2 separate regions of the Homo sapiens genome follow, and region 1 is linked to region 2. The links are contacts of gene promoters, found by promoter capture Hi-C in blood cells and fetal thymus (Javierre and others, 2016). All regions are on one chromosome and are shown on one strand. Each heading gives the region's core, a stretch centred on a gene start or on the middle of the fragment in contact. The rest is flanking DNA. Distances are from core to core; before and after follow the strand shown. Region 1 overlaps BOD1L1 (biorientation of chromosomes in cell division 1 like 1). Region 2 holds the start of DCAF16 (DDB1 and CUL4 associated factor 16).

The links. The method cuts DNA at HindIII sites, captures the fragments that hold promoters and counts their contacts. A CHiCAGO score of 5 or more calls a contact.
Region 1: a fragment that was not itself captured here is called in contact with the fragment with the promoter of DCAF16 in region 2 in 1 of 17 cell types (non-activated CD4 T cells); the score reaches 9.4 in non-activated CD4 T cells.

The regions. Positions count from the first base shown.
Region 1 is chr4:13,619,861-13,626,343 of GRCh38, forward strand. It overlaps BOD1L1 (biorientation of chromosomes in cell division 1 like 1), which reads right to left. Exons shown (of 26, transcript NM_148894.3): 2 at 83-207. Among named protein-coding and RNA genes, the nearest start is that of BOD1L1, 4.6 kb to the right of the region's middle. The HindIII fragment of the contact is 2,486 bases long and covers 3,629-6,114 here.
Region 2 is chr4:17,807,002-17,812,848 of GRCh38, forward strand. It overlaps DCAF16 (DDB1 and CUL4 associated factor 16), which reads right to left and starts at 3,756. Exons shown (of 3, transcript NM_017741.4): 1 at 3,446-3,756. It overlaps NCAPG (non-SMC condensin I complex subunit G), which reads left to right and starts at 3,978. Exons shown (of 21, transcript NM_022346.5): 1 at 3,978-4,187; 2 at 5,220-5,423. The coding sequence starts at 4,077. RefSeq lists enhancers at 1,525-1,674, 3,294-3,383, 3,425-3,936, 3,504-3,663, 3,937-4,449. The HindIII fragment of the contact is 3,530 bases long and covers 1,485-5,014 here.

The DNA.
Region 1 (6,483 bases), core at 3,622-6,121, 4.2 Mb before region 2:
ATATGTATGTAATGCCTCCGCTTTCAGGCAAAGTAGGTTAGGACATTTAAAACCTGCCCAGAACTCTATCTCTGAGACTTACTTGAGGACTTGTTGTCTAATGTTGTTTCTTAGCTGGTTCTTATTGAGATGCGGACTCCATGTGTGAGTTGCCAAGTGATTTGCAACAAAGTTGTCAACACGCTGTCTCAGATTCTGATACGCAGGCTAGAGAGAAAAAAACGAAGGTAAGTCTTCAAGGTTATACAGTATCAATATTCACCTCTCAGAAAAGTATTTTTACCATGGGACAACAAAGTTTCACAGTTTCTGACAATTCTGCTTCAAGATAACTTACACTCATTCAAATACTACTTATTTTGTGTAAGACAAGGTGTTTGGAGATATGAGGAATATAAAGAAGAAAGATACACCTCTTATTTATAGACAAAGGACTGGAAAATAAGACACGAACAAGTGTTATTATTAGATGATTTGGAGTAAAAAAGGGAGAAGAGCTGAGGAAGCATGCCTTCACTGAAAATGTGCCATTTGAGCTGGAAAAATCAATTGCACAAGGAAGCTGGGAATGAGAATGGCTGGCTTTGCTCATACAGTCAATGTAAACAAAGAGCAAGTGGATGAGCAAACTGGAGGCCAGGAGCATTTAGTGAGCCTCCAAATTGGTGGTCCAATTTGGCTATAGAAGAGAATACAAAAAGCAGAGAAATGAGGTTAAGACAGAGAGGTTGGGGCCAGGTGCTAAAAAGCTTTGGTTACTTGTACAAGTTTGGAATTACAGGGTAGAGAATGGGAGCCCACTGCACATATGGGCAGAGTGATAGAACAGCTAAGCTTTCTGATGGTTAATCATCCTACAGTGCAAGAGTAAAGAGACACAAAATACTTTAGGAAAGCATGCAATAAACTACAGTGAGGAAGGTCTTTACTGGGGTGGCAGAAACCAGCTAATGGCATAGACCCAAGAGAAATTATTGAGGGACAACTACTTGAACTAGGCATTAAATCTGAGGTAAGGCAATGGTTCTCTACCAAGAAGGATTTCACTCTCATCCCCCAAGGGACGCTTGGCAATGTCTGGAGACATTTTAGGTTGTTACAACTGATGAGAGTGCTATTGGCATCTAGTGGGTCAAGGGCAAGGATGCTACTGAAGATCCTACAATGCATAGGACAATCCCCCGACAGCAAAGAACTATCCAGCCCCAAATGTCGACAGTGCTGAGTCTGAGAACCCTTGATGTGCTCCCTGAGGGGAACATGGAGGGGAACACATATTACATCATCTCTACCTGAAGGGGCATTGCCTGGAAGGAATATGTGACCAAGCACTCAGCACTGCACTCCATTTCTAGAGGCTGTCTCCCAACACTGATGTTCTTTCTACCTTTCTTCTATACAGCTTTTAATGTGGATGAGTTTGAGTGTCCCTGACTGATATTAAGCAAGCACTGTATAGCCTCACCTTCTGCCATTTGCCTCCTTTTAGCTTCAAAGTTTACACTCCAGTGAGAAATTCTCATATCTGCACCTACCATCCTGCAACTACCATTCCCTCTGGTTGTCCATCTGACAAACTTCTCACCTTCAGAGCTCACCCTAATCTGTGAAATCATCTTGACACCGAAGGTAGGCTTATGGGCTCTTCATCCACGCTCCTACTGTTTTCTATACATGCTACCATTCGAGCAATTCTTGCACTACATTGTATTTTCGGAAGCAAGGCATATTTATCCTCCATTGATGTGTAAGCCTCCTCCTCTATCTCTCTTACAATTTGTTTTCATATAGCCTATCACACTGCTTGGCAAATGAGCAATTAAAATATACTTGTTAGCTGAATGGGTAACTATCTCTAACACAGAATGACAAACATTTTATCCCTCTGATGCCCTTTCATCAGTTCCAATTTTCAGGCCTTTGCTGATACTTATTTCCTGTCCTACATGATCATTTCCTATGTGCCTGTCCATTTATCCAAAATCGATATGAACTAAAATTAATTCTTTTTTTTTTTTTTTTTTGGCAGAGTCTTGCTCGATTGCCCATGCTAGAGTACAGTGGTGTGATCTCGGCTCACTGGAACCTCCACCTGCCGGGTTCCAGTGATTCTAGTGCCTCAGGCTCCTGAGTAGCTGGGACTACAGGCATGCGCCACCACACCTGGCTAATTTTTGTATTTTTAGTGGAGACAAGGTCTTGCTATATTGGCCATGTTGGTCTTGAACTCCTAACCTCAAGTGATCCACCTTTCTCGGCCTCCCAAAGTGCTGGGATTACAGGTGTCAGCCACCATACCCAGCCCTAAAACTAATTCTTAATTCTTTCTCCCCAATGATTCTAAAGCCTAATTCTTCTTTCCGGTATTCCCAAATCTAACACACATTCATTAGGCTCTAACATCACAATGCATTTGGCATTCTAGTCTAGTCTTCCCAGAACAAGTTCAAATCTGAACTACTCAACAGGTAATTTTCCTTGTTTTCAAGCTCTCCTTTCAGTAAAAAGTTGAGCAACTAGAGAAATATTAAGTATTCATTGAGAAGTATTCTCCTAGGAACATGTATGTACCCACATGTACACATATATACACACACACATATATTACACATACTTCCACCCTTTCTTCCTTTTCCAGTGCTTTGGTGAAAAGCCTTAGAGTTATCCTTGAGTCCTCCCTTTGTCTTCTACTTCACATGCATACTATTAGCAAATTCTCTCAACAGTAGCATGAAAATACACCCAGAATCTGACCACTTCCCACTACCTTTACTGACCTCAATCTGTTCCAAGGCATTCTCATCTGTCTGAATTATAACAACTGGCCTCATGCAGAATTCTATCCTTACCTACAACAAAGTTGTCTTCTAAAAATCAGGTAACCATGTAATTTATTGACCCATTCAAATCACAACTTAGCAAGAAAGGGGAAGCTATTACACGTGGTCAACCCATCTGAAATGGAAGTCAGATCATGTCCTTCTTTTGCTCAAAACCTGCCAATGGCTTCTGAGCTCGAGTAAAAGCCAAGGTCTTCTGATGGCTCCCAAGACCTGCCAGATCTGTGAAGGCATACCTACCTCACCTCTTGTCACTTTCCCCTTAGTGGGTCTGTCTCAGCTCTTCTATACTTGCTATGCTCTCTTCTTGGAATGCTCAAGCCCCAGACAGCTGCATTGCCCCTTCAATTCCTTCACAGATGGCTCAAGTATCATCACATTGAAACCTACCCTGAACAGCTTATTCGAAATAAAACAGTAAGCCCATCCATCCCTCATCTTGCTTTTTTCCATAGGACCTACCATACATTACTTGTTGTCTATTTTTTTTTTCTACTAGGATGTAAGCTCCATAACAGTGGGATGTTTGGTTCACTGCTGTATCCCTGGCACCTAAAAAAATGACTGGTACATAAGAGTTGCTCAATGAATGTTTGTTGGGTGAATAAATTGACCAGGGGCCATTTATAACTAAGAAAGTGTCCAAAAAATCAGACTTTCTTACTTGACAAGAGAGGTACCATATTTACCTGGCTGGCGAGCTCCCTGAAGGGCCTCTTGATCATCCCTCCTCACACGCTCCAGATGCTAATCAGTGCAAAGGAGACAGAATGGCTTTGTAACCACTAAGCTTGCTCCAGAGATCTGGAAACTGGTAGTCTATAACGGAGGAGTCTTTGCAGTAGTTGGAGCTTAGGGTTGCCCATGGTTCCATTTCTTTGGGTGGGAAGGGCTGATTTGGTCTGTTACAGTCAGATCTCTCTCCTGGTTAAGGACTATCAATGACCCTGGACAGTTTGGAGGGGGGTTCTATGGTCTTCTGGTGTAGCAGCAGACTTTGGTACTTCTCATCCTGGTTTAAACACACTAAACTGGATGACAGTTTTGCTCTTAGCACCTGGCAGGTATCAAATGTCTTCATTCTTAAATATGCATGTGACAGACATAATCCACTATAACTCTATATGCTACAAGTTAAGACTTTTTGACAGAAAGCAGGTCAGTCTTTGAGGTTCAAGTGGCAGATGAAACTCAAGGATTCCATTAAAGTGATGGTTCTTTGCATGAACAGGGAATCTTCTACTTTGGCCCACTCATCATATTGATATGAATGTTATGTTCTGATGAAGAAAACTTTGGCTTTTTGGGAAGCAGGGGGGAATATATTTTTTTTTTTTTCAAATAAGAAAATGAAGTATAAAATGGTATTCAATGAGAACAAATCTTTTAAATCAAATTAAAATCTACCTAATTGCTAACTAAGGGAGTAGAAGAGAAGGAGAGAGTCATGGGGTAAAGGAAGTACCAGAACATAACCTGTAACATAACCAGGAGCAGGTACAGAGGTTAGTGGCAGGGAGGGGGAGAGAGAGAGAGATTTTGTGGGAGAGTTTAAGCTAGCGTCTGAGCACCAGAACTTCAACCATAGCTGAGTGTTCTTTTTTGTCTGGGAGGGTGTCATTTCAGTTCTAATTTCTCAAAGCAACAGAAATATTAGAAATTTTCATAATTATTAAATAGTATATGCAACTGTATTGAAAAATGTGTATTGTTGCTTTTTAAAAATTTTTGTTTTTTAGACCAAGTCTTGTTCTGTCTCCCAGGCTGGAGTGCACTGGCACAATCTCGGCTAACTGCAACCTCTGTCTCCTGGCTTCAAGCAATTCTCCTGCCTCAGCCTCCCGAGTAGCTGGGACTACAGGCATGTGCCACCATACATGGCTACTTTTTTTGTATTTTTACTAGAGATGGGGTTTCACCATTTTGGTCAGGTTGGCCTCGAACTCCTGACCTCTAATGATCCACCCACCTCGGCCTCCCAGAAGACCAGGGTTCTGTGGTCTTCTGGTGTAGCAGCAGACTTTGGTACTTCTCATCCTGGTTTAAACACACTAAACTGGATGACAGTTTTGCTCTTAGCACCTGGCAGGTATCAAATGTCTTCATTCTTAAATATGCACGTGACAGACATAATCCACTATAACTCTATATGCTACAAGTTAAGACTTTTTGACAGAAAGCAGGTCAGTCTTTGAGGTTCAAGTGGCAGATGAAACTCAAGGATTCCATTAAAGTGATGGTTCTTTGCATGAACAGGGAATCTTCTACTTTGGCCCACGGTGGCCAGGCATGAGCCACCGGGCCTGGCCATACTGTTGCTTTTTAAAGTTCCTGCATCTGTGGCTGAATATGTCTTATTACTAGAAGAAGGGTTGATCATCAATTCTATTCCTATTTCTAATTTTTATAGTCATGCGCCCTGAGAAACCTTGTTCATATAAACAAGTACTGTGCCTCGGAATGGAAGAGTTTTGTTGTAACAATATCATTCAATTCTTGACCTCAAAAAAGAGGCTAAGAACATTAAAATAGGTTCTTATTCCATGGTTCCTGAACTCACTGAAACTGTATATGTTATTAGATTGATTCTCATGAAATTGCCTATAGTTGACCATTCTGAAGTAGAAAAACAGCGTTTTAATGTGTTACTTGCGCATTTTTCTTGAGAGAAGGTCCTAACTTTCATTAGATGATCAGAGATACTGTGCTTCCCTCCTTCCCTCCAAAAAAGGTTTTAATCCTTTACTTTGAAGGGTCTGGCAGGGATATTATAGACACATACCAATAACATTTTGTGGGAATAGGATAATAAAAAAGTTGAGCCTCAGACATTGCAGCAGTACATTACAATTTTTAATTTGTATACATAATGATTCATGGGTTTCTGAGAACACACAGATTCATGGGTTTCTGAGAACAGCAAAGTAAAAATTCCACTTGTTGAATACGAATAACTAACTTTATTTGATAACATTTACCTGGCCATGTCTAACCTTTTCCCATTAAATAACAACAAAAATAATAAAGGCAATAGAAATTATTTCTAAAAGGTAGCAGTGCATATTCCTGAAGACAAAAGTAAAAAAAACTATACTTCCTAAATAGATGAACACTCCCAAGTGAATTGAATTCTCTGTGGTGCAAAACCTCCAATATCCCGAAAAACCACGTTTTACATAGTGGGCCCAGTATGAGTCCTTATAAAGGAAGATGTACCAGGATATTCAAGAGTTTCCCCAGAAGACATAGTGGAACTGTGTGCAGTTCACCTGAAAGCTTTAGAAGAAACTGTGGATGTTGTAAACATGCATTTCTCAAAGATACAAAGCTCCTCAGAACAACTAAACATACTATGAGAAAACCCTCGACCGGGCGCGGTGGCTCATGCCTACTGGGCGAATCACGAGGTCAGGAGATCGAGACCATCCTGGCCAACACGGTGAAACCTTGTGTCTACTAAAAATACAAAAATTAGCAGGGCGTGGTGGCACGCGCTTGTAATCCCAGCTACTTGGGAGGCTGAGACAGGAGAGTCGCTTGAACCCGGGAGGCGGAGGTTGCAGTGAGCCGAGATCACGCCATTGCATTCCAGCCTGGCGACAGGGCGAGACTCTGTCTCAAAAAAAAAAAAAAAAAAAAAAAA
Region 2 (5,847 bases), core at 2,506-5,005:
TTAAGAAAAAATTAAGAACAAGGTTAAGAAAAAAATGAAAAGTAAAACCATTTAATACATATACATATAATGACATGTATAAGGGAGGATTCATGATGGATTAAAGACCTAAATGGGGATGGTAAAACTATATAGTTAGTTAAATATAATACAGAATATCTTTGTGAAATGAGGCCAGGGAAAGACTTCTTAAACAAAAAAGCATAAAGCACCAGACCAAAAAATGAATTTAATCACATCACAATTAATCATTTCTGGACTGAACTAAAGATACCAAGGACAAAGTTAAATCAATTTTTAAGAAAGCAACTTCAATAAAGAAATGAGCAATGGACAAAGATATCCAAATTATAGAAGAGAAAATCCCAAGGCATGAACAATATGATCACATTATGCTATCAGTTTGGTAGAATAAGAAAGCTGGATAACACCAAGTGTCAGTGAGTTCTTTTTTGGAACTGGCACTGCTGGTGGGATTGCAGAGTGGAGTAACTGTTCGGAAGAACAGTCCGGCAGCACTACTTAGGCAAACTATTTGCACATCTCATGATCTAGCAATCCTACTTTTGGGCATAGATAGCAAAGAAATTCCCGTATGAACAACATGTATGAAGATATACCCTGAAGCTACATCTGTGATGACAGGAATTAGAAGCATTCTAGGTTCCTATCGCTGGAGAAGCGGACTGGTAAAATGTGGAAACACATTCCAAGTATATACAGCAACATGGGTGGCCTTTAAAGGCATAGCTTTAAATGAGAAAAGAGACAATATCAATGTCTCGTTTATGCTACTCTGTAGGGGGGATTTCCAAAATCAAAGTCAGTGAACATTTTCATTATCGAATACACTGAGTTGTGCTAATAAGGTCATATGGTATGGCTTCAGGTCAGCAATTTTCCTCTAATGAGTATTTCTCTGGCTTTCACACACTCCTAGCACAGTGTCTGGCATATATGAGTGGCTCAGTAAATAAAAGAGTCAGAGAATGGCAAAGGCCTGCAGTAAGTAACTACCACAAGCATGTTCTATTTTACTCCAGGGAGAGAACAGTTCCAAGTTATATCTTGGTGATTTGGTAATGTTAGACAAAGACAAATGAGATAATTTTTTTAAGGCAGGATCAACATATATGATGCTACTACAGCAATATAAAGGAAACTGCTTATAACTTTAAGAAGAAACAATGTAATACTTCTAAGTTTAGATTATAGTACTATTACCTTGTTCAATCTGAAAAAGAGTATTCATTCTTTGTCGTGGACCGTAAGTCTTTATTAACTGAGACAGGAGAAGCTGTTGGCTTTTAATTGTGCTGTCCTCTAATATTTTTACTATTTTCACTTCAACCAGATTGCACCTGTGAGATTACTAATTGGCTATACTTCAGTTATTATGTTACTCAGAAAATTTTTAAAAAGGCTCTTACTTTCCCATAATTGTTTTTGTTCTGTTTCACAGTACAAAAGTCAGGAAAAATGTAAGCTTTAAGGCAGTATACTATGTTGTTTAAATTTAATCTAGCACCTTTGAAAAAATATTTTCAGATTATAATATCAAAAAATACTGAACCAATACCCCCATGGCTTTAACCATTAAAACAAAACAAAACAAAAAAAAAAACTAACCGAAATATAGTTAGGCTGACCTCTGGCGGCCAGATGTCTCATTCTTCTGTAACTGACAAAATGGTGTGATGTCTCTGTTGGTGAGACAGCCAAATAGAATATAGTAAAGAAATACTAGCCGGGCGCGGTGGCTCACGCCTGTAATCCCAACAGTTTGGGAGGCAAAGGCGGGTGGATCACCTGAGGTCAGGAGTTCGAGACCAGCCTGGCCAACATGGCGAAACCCCGTCTCTATTAAGAATACAAAAGATTAGCCAGGTGTGGTGGTGCATGCCTGTAACCCAGCTACTTGGGAGACTGAGGCGGGAGAATCGCTTCAACCCGGGAGGCAGAGGTTGCAGTGAGCCGAGATCGCGCCATTGCACTCCAGCCTGGGCGACAGAGCAAGACTCTGTCTCAAAATAAAAATAAAAAAATATATATTAGAAACGTCACAAAGCAAAATTATGGGCAACACAAATGTTACCACATTCTTAACTAGCAGCTGAATATCTACAAAGTTTGAGGAATTAAGCAGGAGAATGGATAAGGTATGGCATATTAATACAATGGAGTACTATAGCAACCTGTCTGTGCCGTAGTTTCCTCATCTTAAAAGAAGATCAAAGTTATCCTACAGGGTTTGTGAGCAGTAAACGAAGTAAAGTGCTTAGCATGGTGTCTGGCACATAATAAAGGTTAATTAAGTGCAAGTTACTATTATGAACATATCAATATGAACCACAGCAATATTGATTGAAAAAAGCCAGATGCACATATAATTATTCATTTAACGGTTAAAACATGCAAAATAGTACAATATCCTCATTCAGGGATTTATTCATGTCATTAATATATTAAAATATGTCATTAAGATATAGAAAGCTGCATGGTAAAAGTTAACAGTAAATTCAGAAAATCCATTACTTCTTCGGAGGGCAGGTAATTCAAAAGGAGAAAGATGTACAGGTGGCTTTAGTAATGTTCTATTTCTTCAGCTGGCAGTAGGTTACTGAGGTGTAGGAGAGGGAAAAACGGCTTCCCTCCATCCTCCTAGGTTCTTTGGCTGGGTTACAAATTAACCTGACATAGACATTAACAAGAAAAAAAACCCGTACTTAATTACATACGCAGAGGAGTCCCACCATGGTCAGATGATTGAATATTATACAGCATCCTACGCTACTCAAGAAATGGGGGCTTGCGGCTTTCTGGGGGATGGTGGCCACAAAGTTGTGGAAAGGTGAGGGGAGGAAATATACGGTGAATAAAAGTTGTCTTGGTATGCAGATAAGATCTCCCAGGTAACAAAAATTATCGCAGAGCTGCCCTCTTTCTGATACAGATCCTTTACTGATGTATATTTCCTCTGTAGATGTCAATTTCTTTTACAACAGGACAGATTTTCAGAGCGACTCCTGTGTCTGCATTTTATCAGAATACCAGCTCAAAATATACTCTAGAAGTATATTGTAGGGTGGCATATTTTGGTCTCCTACAGTCCTATTTTTGGATGGTGCATCCTGAGATCCAACAGAAGTTCTGTCTGATATAATTTCATTTAAAATTTAAAAACCTAGTTCCTACTCTTCTTTATTTTAACCACTACCCGAAAGACCTTTCCATTCTCTTGAGTTCTCCCTTAATACACTGTCCTTATGCACACTTGTAAACAGGGCCTACACAGCTGCACATCTAGAAACGGCAGCAGCTAAGTTAGCCCGCACCCCCCTTCGCAACGATCCCCGGACTGCCTGCACGCCCTGTGGAACCTCGCAGTCGGCTTCACCAGGGCAGGGACTAAGGCCTTCAAAAGACAGCATCCGTCTCCACTAACCTCGGGTCGCCCCGCTCAGCGGACCCAGCAGCGTCGTCTCCCTTCTCAGAGGTGGCCGGGCCTCCGGAACGCGCTACGAACTTTCCTTTGTCGCCGTCTCTCGAAGCGGAGCCCTCGTGTGGGGATCCCCCGCCCTTCGGCCACAAGGGAGGTTGTTATCCTCGGCAGATCTCCCGTTCTCACTCTTGGAGGATCGCTTTTTCTTTCTAGCCTCACGCTCAGCCGCACGACCCAGCCAGGCCTAACGCCAGCAGCCCTTCCCCTCCGGTGGCAAGGCCACTCCGCTCAGCTCCCGCGCCGACGCTACTTCCGGCCGAGTCAAGGCCCCTCCCCCTTAGAAACGCCACTTCCCTCCGTGAAAACGGCTGGACAAGGTTGAACCTAGACGCATGCGCCCAAAGCGCGGGGTGCGAGGTGGGTGGACCCATCGCTTCCCGCTCTCTTCTCCCAAAGCGCTTACGGCAGTCTCGCGGGATTTCCCCCTCTCGCGGGAATTATTTGAACGTTCGAGCGGTAAATACTCCCTGGGGCTGTCATAGAAGACTACTCGGAGAGCGCTGCCTCTGGGTTGGCGGGCTGGCAGGCTGTAGCCGAGCGCGGGCAGGACTCGTCCCGGCAGGGTTCCAGAGCCATGGGAGCGGAAAGGAGGCTGCTGTCGATTAAGGAGGCCTTTCGGCTGGCGCAGCAGCCGCACCAGAACCAGGCGAAGCTGGTGGTGGCGCTGAGCCGCACCTACCGCACGGTAAGCGCTCCCGGCCCCGGCCGCCGCCTCTCGCCCGCCCCGGCCCACCCTCCCTCAGGGGCCCTCCGTGGCCCTCGGGCTCGGCGCACCGTGACTCCAGCCTTGTTCACCTTCGCGACTCACTTCATAGGGATCTGAGGTTCGGAGAAGTCAGGGACTTACCCGAGGTCGCCTGGGCCCAGGCCAGAAAGCCTCCGAAGCCTGGGCGTCGTTCACACGGGCCCCGCCTTGGCTTTTCTGAGCCGACACCCCCAGCTTCTGGGCGGCGTGGACCGTTATTCCTTAGTCCGATCGTGAACGTGGAGAGAAACATTTACGACCACCGAGGCGATCAGACATCAAATATTGAACCGCAGAGTGGATCCTGAATGCGGGGGTTCAGTGGTCGTTGCCCCTGGGGTCATCGCTCCCCGCCGAACATCAAATGATTCTACCCTTGTCCTACGGTTACGTTGAATCCAATCACCAAATACCAAATTATTTTTAGGGCCTGGCCATTCTTATTTATGTACATACTATTTGTTTGTTTTGAGTGGAACCTTGAGAAGAATAGAACAATTAATTTGGGGAAGATGAATTATCTTGAGGTCCAAGAAAAATTGTGAGTAAACATCACAGGGCTTTGAGGATATGAGATAGGATGTGCAAGTTATCTCATAAAGAAACTGCTGGTGATAGGAAGGCCTGAATATGAGAAATATAAAAGCCAGTATTGATTTTGGGTTGTTGAAGAAGCGTATTTGTAACGTACTGGTACTAAAGGCTTATTGAGAATCAAAGATATTGAAAAAAATATATCAAAGGAATCTTTTCACTGTCAAAAGTCAAGCTTGTGTACTCCCATTATAGCCTGGAGAGAAATTCATGCAAATTGATTGCCCTTTGGCTGGTTTGGATAATTAAGAGTTTACTAAATAAATATTTTAATTTGTCTGCATTATTATGGCTAGTGCTTTCATCAGTCTTAGGGTGATGTTGGGAATAAAGGATTTTTATCGGTGCAGTTTATGAAGGGTTTCTTTTGTCTTTCAGATGGATGATAAGACAGTTTTTCATGAGGAGTTCATTCATTACCTTAAATATGTTATGGTGGTCTATAAACGTGAACCAGCTGTGGAGAGGGTAATAGAATTTGCAGCAAAGTTTGTTACCTCATTTCACCAATCAGATATGGAAGATGATGAGGAAGAGGAAGATGGTGGCCTTTTAAATTATTTGTTTACTTTTCTCTTAAAGGTACTATGAAAATGATAGCTTTGGGGAGGGATTTTAGAAAATTTTGCCACTTTAAAAGAGTCGTGGGAGTTTGTATGTTTTTGACAATGAAATATCTAGTGATTGAAAAAACCTGAATGAGTCTACCTTTCATAGGAAATATTAGAATTATCATTATGATTAAAAAGTGGACTTTAACTCCAGCATTAAATTTTTAATGACCTCTTTAAACCAGTTCTCCTTTGTTTATTTTAAATGAGTTCTGTATTTTAGAAGCCTCTACAAAGAGGACTATGTAACTTAGCAAAGACTTCTTTCAGACTGTTCATTTTGAGACTGTATAAAATATATATATTTGCTATACATATGGACCAAGGTAGCATTATAGGTTCTCTTCAGGAAATGAATTGTTGTTGTAACTTCTTGCATTCCGAATGTATAGAGT